Regions from separate parts of the Homo sapiens genome. Here regions 1 and 2 are each linked to region 3. Evidence: promoter capture Hi-C in 16 types of primary human blood cells and fetal thymus (Javierre and others, 2016). All regions are on one chromosome and are shown on one strand. The core of a region is centred on a gene start or on the middle of the fragment in contact, and the rest is flanking DNA. Distances in the headings are between cores, read along the strand shown. Region 1 overlaps GRM3 (glutamate metabotropic receptor 3). Region 2 overlaps GRM3 (glutamate metabotropic receptor 3). Region 3 holds the start of GRM3 (glutamate metabotropic receptor 3).

Region 1 (4,939 bases), core at 2,174-4,673, 190 kb after region 3:
AAGGAATTTATCAGGCATAGATATTTTCCATTTTCATAAAGGGTTGAGCTTTTCAAAATATATGTAGAAATACAAATATTTATTACCCTAGACCAAGGTTTCTCAACTTCAGCACTATTGACATTTTGGGCCAGGTATGTATTTGTTCTGAAGGTGTGTCTTGCATATTATGGGATGTTCAGCAACATCCCTGGCCTCACCTGCTAGAGGCTGCAATTCCCCCGCCCCCTTGGCTACATAATAATATATGCAAGTGTCAAGGCCCTTAAGATTCACATTTAATTGGCCGGTATTATGACTCAGGCATTAGCATGATTTTTAAGTTCCTGAGATGATTCTAATAAGTCTAATTGTTTAGGAAACAATGTGTCCAGTGTTCCTTAATGAGAGTACAAAGTTGAATGAGAAATCATCCCTGTTCTGGAGAGGCTTAGGAATAGCAAAGAGATGGGCACACACTGAATATTTTTCCAACATATTATAGTCCATTTCCTTAAGGTCAAACGCACAATACACTATGTCAGCACAAAAGGAGAGCTGATACCTTAAAGATACAATATTCTTCTGAAATGTTTTTCAGTACCTGAAATCCTCACATTTTAGAATTATATATTTGTAATCTTGAAATAGGTAAAGATTTCTTAAACAGAATGCTGAAAGTCTTAGCCATAAAGTAAATAATTCATAAATTGGAAATTGGCATTAAAATTAAGAATTTAGGGGCATTAAAACTAAAGACTGTACTGGGCATTAAATTTTAGAATTTATGTTTATTGGACAAAACTAAGAAGCAGGTGAAAAGGTAAGCCACAGAGTAGATATTCACAACACATATATCTGAAAAGTAGTCATATCTGGAAAATATAAAAAACTCATATAAATCACTTTTTTTTTTTTTGAGACAGAGTTTTGCTCTTGTCCCCCAGGCTGGAGTGCAATGGCCCTATCTCGGCTCATTGCAACCTCTGCCTCCCGCATTCAAGCGATTCTCCTGCCCCAGCCTCCCGAGTAGCTGTTATTACAGGCGCCCACCACCATGGCCAGCTAATTTTAGTATTTTTAGTAGAGAAGAAGTTTCACTATGTTGGCCAGGCTGGTCTCAAACTCCTGACCTCAGGCGATCCACCTCCCAAAGTGCTGGGATTACAGGCATGAGCCACCACGCCCACTGTCAAATTTTTAAAAGAGAGAAAAATCCAGGCCGGTGCGGTGGCTCACACCTGTAACCCCAGCACTTTGGGAGGCCAAGGCGGGCGGAACACAAGGTCAGGAGATGGAGACCATCCTGGCTAACACGGTGAAACCCTGTCTCTACTAAAAATACAAAAAATTAGCTGGGCGTGGTGGCAGGCACCTGTAGTCCCAGGTACTCGGGAGGCTGAGGCGGGAGAATGGTGTGAACCCGGGAGGCAGAGCTTGCAGTGAGCCGAGATCGTGCCACTGCACTACAGCCTGGGCGACTGAGCAGAACTCCGTATCAAAAAAAAAAAAAAAAAAAAAAAAAATCCAATACAAGTGGACTGGAAAAGGTACTTTATAAAAGGGTATTTATAGACATTTGATTGACTTATGAAAAGGTGCTCAATATTATTAGGCATTGGGGAATGCAAATTAACTACCAAAAAAATCACAACGAGATACCGGTACATTTTCACTCAAATATCTAAAATTAAATGACATCATTATGAAGCATATGAAGCAACTGAAACTCACATACAATTTACTATTATATACAAATACATACACACTATATACACACTTTTGCACATACACATATAGGCATATTTCAGAAATATTTTACATTCAGTTCTAGGCCATTGCAATAAAGCAAAATTCACGATAAAGCAAGTTACATAAGTTTTTTGGTTTCCAGTGCATATAAAAGTTATATTTACACTATACTGTAGTTTATTAAGTGTACAGTAGCATTATGTATTAAAAACAATGTATATACCTTAATTTAACAATACTTTATTGCTAAAAAATGCTAACAATCATCCCAGCCTTTAGCAAGCCATACTCTTTTTGCTGATTGACGGTCTTGCCTCAGTGTTGATGGCTGCTGACTGATTAGGGTGGTGGTTGCTGAAGACTGAGGTGACTGTGGCAGTTTCTGAAAATAAGAAAACAAGGAAGTTTGCCACAATAATTGAATCTTCCTTTCACAAGATTTCTCTGTAGCGTGTGATGCTGTTTGACAGCATTTTACCCACAATAGAACTTTCAAAATTGGAGTCAGTTCTCTCAAATCCTGCCACTGCTTTATCAACTAAGTTTATGTAATATTCTAAATCCTCTCTTGTCATTTCAACAACGTTCACGGCTTCTTCACCAGGTGTGGATTCTATCTCATGAAACCACTTTCTTTGCTCATCCATAAAAAGCAACCCCTCATCTGTTTTAGTTTGATCATTTAGTTTGCAGCAATTCAGCCACATCTTCAGGCTCCACTTCTAATTCTGGTTCTCTTGCCATTTCCACCTCATCTGCAGTGACTTCCTCCACTGAAGTCTTGAGCCCTTCAAAGTCTCATGAACCATCCTCTCCTAGCTTTTTCTTCTGCAATTCCTCAGCTTTCTCAGACTTCAAATAATTGAAGATAATTAGGACCTTGAGCTGGATTAGGCTTTGGTTTAAGGGAATCTTGCGTCTGATTTGATGTTCTATCCAGACAAGTAAAACTTTCTCCATATCAGCAATAAGACTCTTTCACTTTCTTACCATTTGTGTGCTTGCTGGAGTTGTGCTTTTAATTTCCTTCAAGAACTTTTCTTTTGCATTCACAACTTGCTTAACTGGTGCAAGAGGGCTAGTTTTGAGCTTATCTCAGCTTTCAACATGCCTTCCTAAGCTTAATCGTCTCTAGCTTTTGACTTTAAGTGATTCTTTCTTTCACTTGAACACTTATAGACCATCATAAGGTCATTAATTGGCCTAATGTAAATATTGTTGTGTCTCAGGGAATAGGAGGCCTGAGGTGATGGAGAGAGATAGGGGAATGGCCAGTCAGTGAAGCAATCAGAATCAGCAATCACAACATTTATTAAGATCACCATCTGACCTGGGTACAGTTTGCGGCACCTGAAAACATTTATAATAATAGCATCAAAGATCACTGATCACAGATCACTATTACAGATATAATAATAATGAAAAAGTTGAAATATTGCAAGAGGAGTTGCCAGAAAGTGACACAGACACATGAAGTGAGAGCATGCTGTTGGAAAAATGGTACTGATAGACTTGTTCGATGCAGGGTTGCTACAAACTTCCAATTTGTAAAACAAAACAAAAAAGGAATATCTGTGAAGCACAATAAAGCAAAGTACAATAAAATGAGCTATGCTTATATATGTATATCCCAAAATTTATATACAAGAGTCTTCAAGGTAGCATGTAGAAAATGCTGTCAGTGCCTCACTTGTATCTTCTTACCACTCACTATTCTCAGACATGCCAATGGCTTCTCAATAGAAGTATCTGTGACTCTCTGCCAGAGAGCTTTGTCTGGTCAGACAGCCTCTACCTATAGAGAACATACCAAAAATGCCATGAAGTTACCACTCTACCATAAACCAATGACAAATGAGAGTTGTCCCATCCAAGCTGATGAGTAAGCTGGGGTTTTATGTCCCAATTTCCACTCCACTGTCTCCCACAAGGCCCCAGTGAGGCTGAGACCCACTTGCCCTCAGCAGTAACTTGGTCACTGACACATCCTGTATTGGATTCATTCCTGTTTGTCTTATTTCTCCATTGCCCTATAACCTCCCAAATCAACTACGTGAATTCAAATTTAGTCTTGGGGTTTGCTTCTAGGATAACCCAGCTAAAGATAGAACATTGTTTATATAAGTTAAAAATTGAAAGAAAATTTTTTTAAAAATGTCCATCAACAAAAGAATGGATAAATTGTGGCACATCATATGATAAAATACTATGCATCAATAAAAATAAACTAGAGCTCCTCATCACTACATGATGAATGAATTTCATAAAGCTTAATTTTGAACAAAAGATGTTAGATACAAAATAATACATACTTACATTAATATAAAGTTCAATATCAGGCAAAATAGTCTGTGGTTGTTATGAGTTGAATTGTGTTCCCCAAAAAGAGATATTTTGAAGTCATAACCCTAGTATCTCACAATATGACCTTATTTGGAAATAGTGCTTATACAGGTAACCAAGTTAAAATAAGGTCATTAGGGTGGGCCCCAGTCCAATATGGCTGGTGTTCTTACAAAAAGGGAAAATATAAACACAGAGACACAAGGAGAACACTGTGTGAATGTGGAAGATCAGAGTAATGCATTAACAAGCCAAGGAACACCGAAGATTGCCGGCATACCACCAGGAGCTAAGAGAGAGGCATGGGAGAGATTCTCCCTCACAGTCCTCAGAAGAAACAAACCTTGCTGACACCTTGATTTCAGGCAGACCATGAGACAATAAACTTCTGTCATCTCAAGCCACTCAGTTTGTGGTACTTCGTTATGGCAGCCCTAATACACTAATACAATGGTTGTAGAAAGTAAGATAGTGATTGCCTTTGGGGCTGAGGAAGGGTGGAATGATAGGGACGGGAACAAGGGAACTGGTAATGCTCTGTTTCTTAACAGTCACAGTGTTACATGTGTGTGTTCACTTCATGATAACCCACTTTTTCAAAATGCTTTTTTTTGTATGCATTAAAACTCAATGAAAATTTTTACAAATCTAAACACTTATTAGAGCAGATGAGAAAAAAGCAGTACACTGTGTAATGAAGAGGGCAAGAGTTGGGGAAAAGAAGGTAGGAAAAAAATGTGATAGTATCTGTAGTTCACATTAAAGAAGGTCCCTAAGCAAAGATTCAATGACCACTATGGACTTTCAGCTCAAATAAATCAGGTTAGCCCTGTCCCCTGAATTGCGGGTAGGAGGATTGGAATCT
Region 2 (4,392 bases), core at 779-3,278, 150 kb after region 3:
CTTAATTCTTAAAGATGAATAAGAATTCAGCACATACTCCCCATCAGACTACCCTTCAGGGTATTATTTATCTTTACTCACCACATATATTAATTAACTTTGTTATTCTAGTTCCTTTCTTACTTTTTAGTATGCAAATATACAAATATATTCACTCATCAACAGCTAAAATAAAATGAACGCTTAGAATTCAGAGAGCCTTTGCAAGGTGTTTTATGGAACCAAAACATGTTCCTTCATTCCAGTGACTTCTTGGGTCTTAAAAGGCAAAGAAAAGTAAAGAAACAAGCCCATTATTTGGATAAACAAAACAAAAGTATCCTCTTTTTGTCTGTCTTGTTCAATTACTCTTTTCAAGTCTACCGTTCAGTTTGGCTGTGCAAACCTGACCACAAAGTGCTATTTTAGCCTTCTCAATTTGACAGACATTACCAGTCATTCTCCATCTCTGAAGAGAGTAGGAGGGTGAAAAACAGATTTAAACTACATAAAAGAGAGGGAATTTAGACCAGCCACAAGGTAAATATTCTCAGCAGTGAGAATTGGACAAGAAAATACATTACTAAGGGAGGATACCAAAATGCTAAGTTAGCTAACTAGTACATTTAAAAAATAAGTCAAAGAACTAACTATAGTAATAGAATGCAGATTTTAGCTTACAGTAACCTGTATATGACTAAATATATGTATATTTTTAACTTAGAGCTAGGTAAAAGATTATAAGTATGTATGCATTATTACTGCTTTAAGCTTGAGATGCACTATGGAATATTTTTTCCTAGCTATTGAAAAGCAGATTTGTTTTACTTTTTTTCTGAAACAGTATCTTTGTTTTTTCTAACTTGAATATTGTGGCAATAAACTAGGCACAATAGTACACACTTAGCAGACACTAAACAGTCTGTTCAATTAGGCTGAAAAAAGTCTTCTTCTGGCTATTTGCATGTACTCAATACATTTACTCCAAGATTCTTCTGACAAGGGACACTTTTAGCCAATTCCCCAATAGCTCTCATCATTATAGGATTAAAAAACTAGGCCTCCTGTGAATTTAAAAATAGATTAAAATACTCCCTGGTACTCAGATGTGTTCCCACTAGCTAATTCCAGCATTGGTCAACATGGATCTTGTTTGAAGCTAACCCAGTTTAAATATTCCTTTTGCAAAACAGATTTTTAGAGCTATGCCTTGCTAAAGATTCTTCCAAATAGTAATCTCTCCTGGCACAGGAGCTAACCACTGCCCAGGTCTCTAGGCTCATCTCCTGCTGTACACTCCACATTCACTCTTCCTTCCATTAGCACTACTTGCAGTTCCCCAAACATGGCATGCCTCTATTTTTGCCTGCATACTTCCTGTGAATGCTATTTCTTTATCTAGAAGATTCTCTCCCCACCCCCACCTGCCTTATCTGGCATCTTCAGTGATTCCTGTGTCTCTTTGAGATCCAATTTAATTGATAGTTCCTTTAGGAATCATTCCTATACTTCCCAAACTAAGATAAATGCCCCTTCTTATGCCCATATCCATCTGGGATTTTGCCTTCCTTCATACTTTATATCCAATACACCAAAATCTCTTGTTGGCTCTACCTTCAAAATAGATCCAGAATCTGATGACTTATCATCTTCTCAACTGCTACCACCCTGGTCCATACCACCATCTCTAGCCTACATTTCTGTGATAGCCTCCTAGTTGATTTATTCTTACCTACTTCAACCTAGCCTCCACAATCTATTCTCTACATGATAGCCAGGATGCCCTTTTAAAATCTAAGTCAAAGTCCTTCCTCTACTCAGAACCACTTGAGTTCCCTTGTTTCACTCATAGTGAAAGTCAACAGCCTTACAATGTCCTGCACACCACCCTCCCTGCTCTGCCCCTACCTATCCTGACTGCTCTCCTGTCCTCACCTTTTACTCTCCTTCTTTCTCACTTCACTCCAGCCACCCTTGTTTCCAACATTAGGGCTTTTCCACTGCCAGTTCTCTCTGCCTATATTGCCCCTAACCCAGATATTTCTGTGGTTAATCCATTCCCTACTTCTTTCAAATATTCATGTAAATGTTATCTTCTCAATGAGACCTACTCTGGCCATTCTTAACAGTGTAATGCATTACCCCCAACCCCCACTACAGATGCCCCTATTTCCCTTGTACCCTGCTCTACCTTTTGTTTTTTCACCCCATGACATTTTCCCCTTCTGTCATACTACATCATCTATTACTTTCATATTTAGTCTTTATTGTTTGATCCTCACACTAGAATATAAGCTCCACAAAAAACAGAAATCATTATCAATTTTGTTCACAAATGCATCCCAAGCATAAAAGGTGTTCAGTAAGTGTTGATTTTGAATAGCAGTTAACCCAAACTTACGTTTTCTTCTCTACCTTTATTACTAGCTTGTGGGCTCTTTCAAGGCATGGTACATATATTTCATCTCTGATCTCAAATACTCAGCATGGTTTCTGGCATAGAGCAGACATTATGTAAATGTTTACCAAAGGAATGAGAAATTATAAAAGCAAGCAATCAATTTATAATATGATTGCTTTGAAAAAATTTTAATATATAAATTTTGTTCATTAACAAATGAATGTCAAGAAAGGAAAGTGTATGACTTCTAGAGTGGCTTGCTTTTTTACCTAAGTACTCTCTTTTAGTTATATTCTATCATTTCATTTGAGATAAATGTAACCAAATATCATTAAAGCTGGAAGAGACCCATCACTGTTTTATAGATGAATCCCAAGAATTGAAAGTGATTCGCCCAAGATCAGTCAGCTGGTTAGTAACAGGGGCCAGGACTGTTAGCTCGTTAGTAACAGGGGTGAGGTGAAATTCATGTCACCTGACCCAGTGCTGCTTTTGCATGTGCACGAGGACTCTGGGAAATTGATGTATTTGATCCCAAACATCTACCACAGTTTCTGATCCATTCTAAATATTAATGAAATGCTATTGAAGGAATGAAAGATGATCAATAGGTTTATAGTATGTTTCCTTTTTTTATTTCTTTTTAAGATACCTTTAATGCTCCTGGTCTACTTTTTCAGTTGACACAAAGGTGGTTCATCAAACACCCAAACTTTGAACGCTGAGCCTTGGATTCCAAACCTTAGTATATTTAAAAATAAATAAAGTTTCAAATCATTTTTTAATTGTTCAGTAAAATTATTTCCATGTGCAAGAGTTATGTCATCCAGAATCCTAAAGTAAATATTTAAATGAGAATTATGTTTGGTGTCATGTGAATTTTCAAACTTACTTTGAGTAAAATTTCAGAATTTATGATGTAAAAGAAAGCTTAAACTATGCAATACAGTTAAGAAAAAGGAAGTCGAGAGGTCTATGAAACATCTAAAGAAATGGAATATCACTGTGATTGTGTTCACAGTACAGTACATTCTTTCTCACTTTTTATCCTGAGACCAGTTCCAGAAAGTCGAATAGAATAAAATCATAGAGTTACAAAAGGCCTTCCTCAAAGATGAGCTTGCCCCTACTTCTCACTTGACAGAGGTGAAAATTCAGGATGTCAGCATTATTATCTTCACTTACTGAAGCACATAAAAATGAACTCAACTGTCAGAGTGATGTGGTAACTGGAGTATACCCAATTTGAAGGAAAAAAGAAAGAGCTTCCATTTGCTAAGCATAACTGCCAGAAGTGCCCCAAGACACATCCAATGTCACGTAGGCATTATCTCAGGAATAACATTTATGCCATTCCTCTCTGCAATTCTTAGGGTTAGGCTAAACTGTTTGAGAATGGAGAAATTGAGAACTTGACACAAAAGAAAATTCATCCAAGTTCACATAATGAATAGGTGACAGAGTAAATGCCAAGGTCCTGATTTAGTCATTCATTCCACAGATACGTTTAGATGTCATGCTGGGACCTGAGGACCCAACAGTAAACAAGGCAGATGCAGTCCCTGCTTCATAGAGCTTACACAGACATTTAACCACCAAAAACAATTCTAAAGTATAAAAGCATGATTATTATGGCTTACAATGTTAGGGTGTTGCCCTAGGATTTTTGTTCTGCTTTGGTTTGGATTGGGAAATTACTATGTATCTTACACCCAGAAAAGATCTAGGATCCCTGAAGAAATCTTACTCCCAGGGCTTCACTTATATGTGAAGAGGACAATTCCCTGTTACTGATGGACTCATCATAACAGGACTGAATAGTATGTACAGCTAAGCTAAGACAGTTTTCTTTTTTATTTGTTTGCTTGGTTGGCTTAGTTCATTGGTTGGTTGCCTTTTTTTTTTTTTTTTTTTTTTTGCTACCAGTGAAGAGACAGACTACTGGGATCAGAGACCTAGAGCCTGGTGGAGACAGTCCAGCCTTCTTCTTATGTTTACAATTCTCTACACCT
Region 3 (4,385 bases), core at 1,039-3,538:
TCTCAACCTCCTGGCCTCAGGTGATCCACCCACCTCAGCTTCCCAAAGTGTTGGGATTACAGGCGTAAGCCACCGCCCCCAGCCTACAGGCCATATTTAAAAAATCACTGTAAAGAAGTCCAAGTGTTAATGGTAAAGACTCCTAAGAAAAAACATCATGATTTAGTTACTCAAACAAATATAGATGAATTAGTGAAATTTAGATAAACTAATAAAAATATGAGCTACAAGGAGTGATCTAGATGCCCAAATACATGTGTTTCACTTGAAAAATATTTGAGAAACTTGATACATCAGATGTAATTAAGAAAAGGAACTAGGATTGTTTAGAAATGGAGCCCAGCTAGAATACTTGGGGAGGGTGTGAAGAGAGGGATAATGTAATCTCTTAATTGACATGTTACTTAGTCAGAGGTTTTTATTTAGACCTATCCCTTGAGGCTTTTAAAAGTAACTCGAAAACACACACACACACACACACACACACACACACACACACACACACCAACAAATAAACATTAAAAGCCAATCTATATTCCCGATCAATGACGAATTTAAACAGTGAAGACTAATTGCTTTCAATTAAATATGCTCAACAATTAAAATACCATCAGTTAACTATTATATAAACCAGGGATTTTTAATAGTAACTAATATTTATATGCTTCTTACATGGATTTACTAATCCTCAAAATAATTCTGAGGTATGAGCAATTGTTATTCCCATTTTACAGATGATGAAACTGACATATAGGCAGGTTAAGAAACTTGCCCAAGTTCACGCAGCTAGGAAGTGATGAAAATTCAGGATTCACATTGAGGAATTCCTTTGTGTGTATGGCGTAACGTGGGAGAGGAAAGAAGTGTCTCATCAGGCAATATCTGATAACAGACTGATAATTTGCCTCAGCATTTCAGCCTCTACTCACCACAAGCCTTAGTTAACAGCTAGATACAGACTATGGAGTGCAGTTTATCAGCACTTTCCGTTGTGCAAACATCAGCTACTTTTGTGTGTGTGAGACAAAAACATCAGCTCTCTTCTACTTCTCTCAATCCCAGCTAATTCTGATAAGGTCTTGGAAGCGCAAAATGATGTCTTCTGGAACGTTCTGAAAGAGACCAAAATCTACCCACACAGCTTCATGAGGATCTGAAGCCTTGCAGTGTATAAATCTTTATCTTTCTCATGTTCATGTCATTGCCCCTTGATATACAGTTGTCTATTGGGCAGACATTGTTAAAAGTAAATAAATTCTTAAAATTAAAATTAAATTCCTATAAAGATCTTTTTTTGGTGAACAATTCATGCTGGAAAATACTAATGAAACACAAAGGAAGAGGAATTTTGCTTGTACGTGGTCAATGCTATTGCATTCCAGAAAGAATACGTTGAAAGGGGGACTTCTAAAATTTTAGCATTTCACTATATAATAACACTTTATTTTTTAATATATTCAAATTTCTGGATCTAGTGGAGTTCACAATGAAATATATATATATATATATATATATATATATATATGCACATGTGTCTTTTAAATATTGCTGTCCCTCTAAAAGAATCAGTAGGTAAAATTATTTCTGTAGTTTAAAAGTTCTGGCTAGGTTACAAAAGACAGCAATTGTTAAACAACTTAACATTAAATATTAAAGACTAAATGTAGCATTTAAAGCATTAAGTTTAATTGTGTCTGGCTTCATATAATTCAGTCCTTGGTTAATACAAAGTTAGTATATTAGAGTACAAAAATTAATGAAGTTTCAATTTGGAAATTAAACAGTATGTGTTTCTAGACATAGAAAGATGCCTGGAATTTTACCTTTAGGATTTTATCTGTAGCTGGCAGCCTATTAAAGCTGTTTCCGCGTGCCTTTTTCTCTTTTGTGCCTACGTCACCGATTTAAGGTTCCTATTTATTTATTTATTTTTAAGAAGAAAGAAGAGGTTCTGTAGGAAACATTGACTGTATCCGACAACCATAGCAGGACTAGAGAAGGACCAATGAGGGGGTGCTGGGGGTAGCTTTAAGAGGCGAGGTGGTAGCAGAAAAGGATAAGAAGAAAGATAATTCAGCAGTCCCCTATAATCTTATTCCACCCAAGAAATTTGGGAGAATGCGAAAAAGCAGCAGCCCAGCATTCCCGGATGGGCGTGGCTTTTCTCCAGGGGCTGTCCAATTGAATTCCTTCAGAGGGAGAAGATTGATAAGGGTTGCTAGGAAACAGGAGCGTCTGCCTCCCGCCTGACCCAGAGATTGTTCTGCACAAACCCTCTCCAGGGGCTCGCAGTGTGCAGTTGAGTCGCGAGTACGGCTGAGCTGCGTACCGGCCTCCCTGGCTCTCACACTCCCTCTCTGCTCCCGCTCTCCTAATCTCCTCTGGCATGCGGTCAGCCCCCTGCCCAGGGACCACAGGAGAGTTCTTGTAAGGACTGTTAGTCCCTGCTTACCTGAAAGCCAAGCGCTCTAGCAGAGCTTTAAAGTTGGAGCCGCCACCCTCCCTACCGCCCCATGCCCCTTCACCCCACTCCGAAATTCACCGACCTTTGCATGCACTGCCTAAGGATTTCAGAGTGAGGCAAAGCAGTCGGCAAATCTACCCTGGCTTTTCGTATAAAAATCCTCTCGTCTAGGTACCCTGGCTCACTGAAGACTCTGCAGATATACCCTTATAAGAGGGAGGGTGGGGGAGGGAAAAGAACGAGAGAGGGAGGAAAGAATGAAAAGGAGAGGATGCCAGGAGGTCCGTGCTTCTGCCAAGAGTCCCAATTAGATGCGACGGCTTCAGCCTGGTCAAGGTGAAGGAAAGTTGCTTCCGCGCCTAGGAAGTGGGTTTGCCTGATAAGAGAAGGAGGAGGGGACTCGGCTGGGAAGAGCTCCCCTCCCCTCCGCGGAAGACCACTGGGTCCCCTCTTTCCCCAACCTCCTCCCTCTCTTCTACTCCACCCCTCCGTTTTCCCACTCCCCACTGACTCGGATGCCTGGATGTTCTGCCACCGGGCAGTGGTCCAGCGTGCAGCCGGGAGGGGGCAGGGGCAGGGGGCACTGTGACAGGAAGCTGCGCGCACAAGTTGGCCATTTCGAGGGCAAAATAAGTTCTCCCTTGGATTTGGAAAGGACAAAGCCAGTAAGCTACCTCTTTTGTGTCGGATGAGGAGGACCAACCATGAGCCAGAGCCCGGGTGCAGGCTCACCGCCGCCGCTGCCACCGCGGTCAGCTCCAGTTCCTGCCAGGAGTTGTCGGTGCGAGGTAAGGGTCCCAGAGGAGGACGTGTCCCTCTGGAGGGCGCCCAGCCAGGGCGCGGAAGCTCGGGTGCCGCGTGGGGCAGGCGCAGCCGGGAAAGTTGAGGTAGAGCATGGACCAGTCCCTACAGTCCTGACTGGAGTGGGAAGGGTGGAGGGCAGAGGCGATGTGGGTGTGCATGAGTGAGAGTTTGTGTGTGTGCGCCCACGTCTGTGTCTGGGAGGAGGGAGATTTCAGGGCATAGATCTGCGGCCAGGGTGCGAGAGGTGAAGGGACGAACTAGCACTCGCAGACCCCAGAGAGACCAGTCTCATCAGCCAACCACCTCCATCTCAGCTCTGGGCTCAGAATTTGTTTCTATTTGGGGGCTCCCTAAGGCTTTGTGCACAGGAATCCGTGGATACGGGCGGTTTCATGTGGGTGTGGAGGTTGCAGGCAGAGGTGGGCAACGGTCAGCGAGACCTGGTCCATGCAGCCCAGATAAGCTCCGAAGCCGGAGGCGGCCAGAGGTTTGCCCTCCCGCAAGCAGGGTTGGAAAGGAGCCTTAACTCACTGCCCTTTGCTCCTTTTGGCTTGAGTGAAAAATCGAAAAGCCAGACAGGGAGCATATCTTTTCATCGACCCTGTTCCATTTTCTTATCTGACAGTGAGATAACTCAGAGAGGGCGGGAGATTTGCGATCCAAAAATAGACTAGGTGATATATCCAATAAGCTTGTTTCTTAAGGATTTCATTTAAATTTCTTTCTAGTTATTCCTTGGGTTATCAAAGGTGGACAATTCTCTAAGGTACAACACTTTTAGGTAAATATATTAAGGAAGGATTCTCCCACTTTAAGTATTTTAGATATTGTAAATTTTGAAAAACAAAACTATACACCTCTAAAGATCTTTGGTTAAGGACTCAACTAATTTGCTTATAAAAATATTTCTACTATTTGAATAGTAATAGATATGTTTGGGGTCTATATGTAGGTACATATTGGAATATTCAAAGTTGAGGTTAATGTGAGTTGAGGTAGGTGTGAGTTAAGTACCAACAATAGTTCCTTAGAGTTTCTTTGCTTGAATTTCTTAGAACTGTCCAGCACAGCTACAGTATGTTTCTTTGTGGTGGGCGGGGGGGTGGGGGTGGGGGGG

The links. Contacts are between HindIII fragments. The CHiCAGO score rates a contact against its expected background, and 5 or more counts as called.
Region 1: a fragment that was not itself captured here is called in contact with the fragment with the promoter of GRM3 in region 3 in 1 of 17 cell types (megakaryocytes); the score reaches 5.5 in megakaryocytes.
Region 2: a fragment that was not itself captured here is called in contact with the fragment with the promoter of GRM3 in region 3 in 1 of 17 cell types (megakaryocytes); the score reaches 5.3 in megakaryocytes.

What each region holds. Positions count from the first base shown.
Region 1 is chr7:86,826,633-86,831,571 of GRCh38, forward strand. All of the region lies in intron 3 of GRM3 (glutamate metabotropic receptor 3), which reads left to right. Among named protein-coding and RNA genes, the nearest start is that of GRM3-AS1, 26 kb to the left of the region's middle. The HindIII fragment of the contact is 1,149 bases long and covers 2,850-3,998 here.
Region 2 is chr7:86,788,742-86,793,133 of GRCh38, forward strand. The region is part of intron 3 of GRM3 (glutamate metabotropic receptor 3); the gene reads left to right. The region is part of intron 1 of GRM3-AS1 (GRM3 antisense RNA 1); the gene reads right to left. Among named protein-coding and RNA genes, the nearest start is that of GRM3-AS1, 12 kb to the right of the region's middle. The HindIII fragment of the contact is 2,560 bases long and covers 749-3,308 here.
Region 3 is chr7:86,641,621-86,646,005 of GRCh38, forward strand. GRM3 (glutamate metabotropic receptor 3) reads left to right here and starts at 2,289. Exons shown (of 6, transcript NM_000840.3): 1 at 2,289-3,252. The HindIII fragment of the contact is 6,723 bases long and covers 1-3,957 here.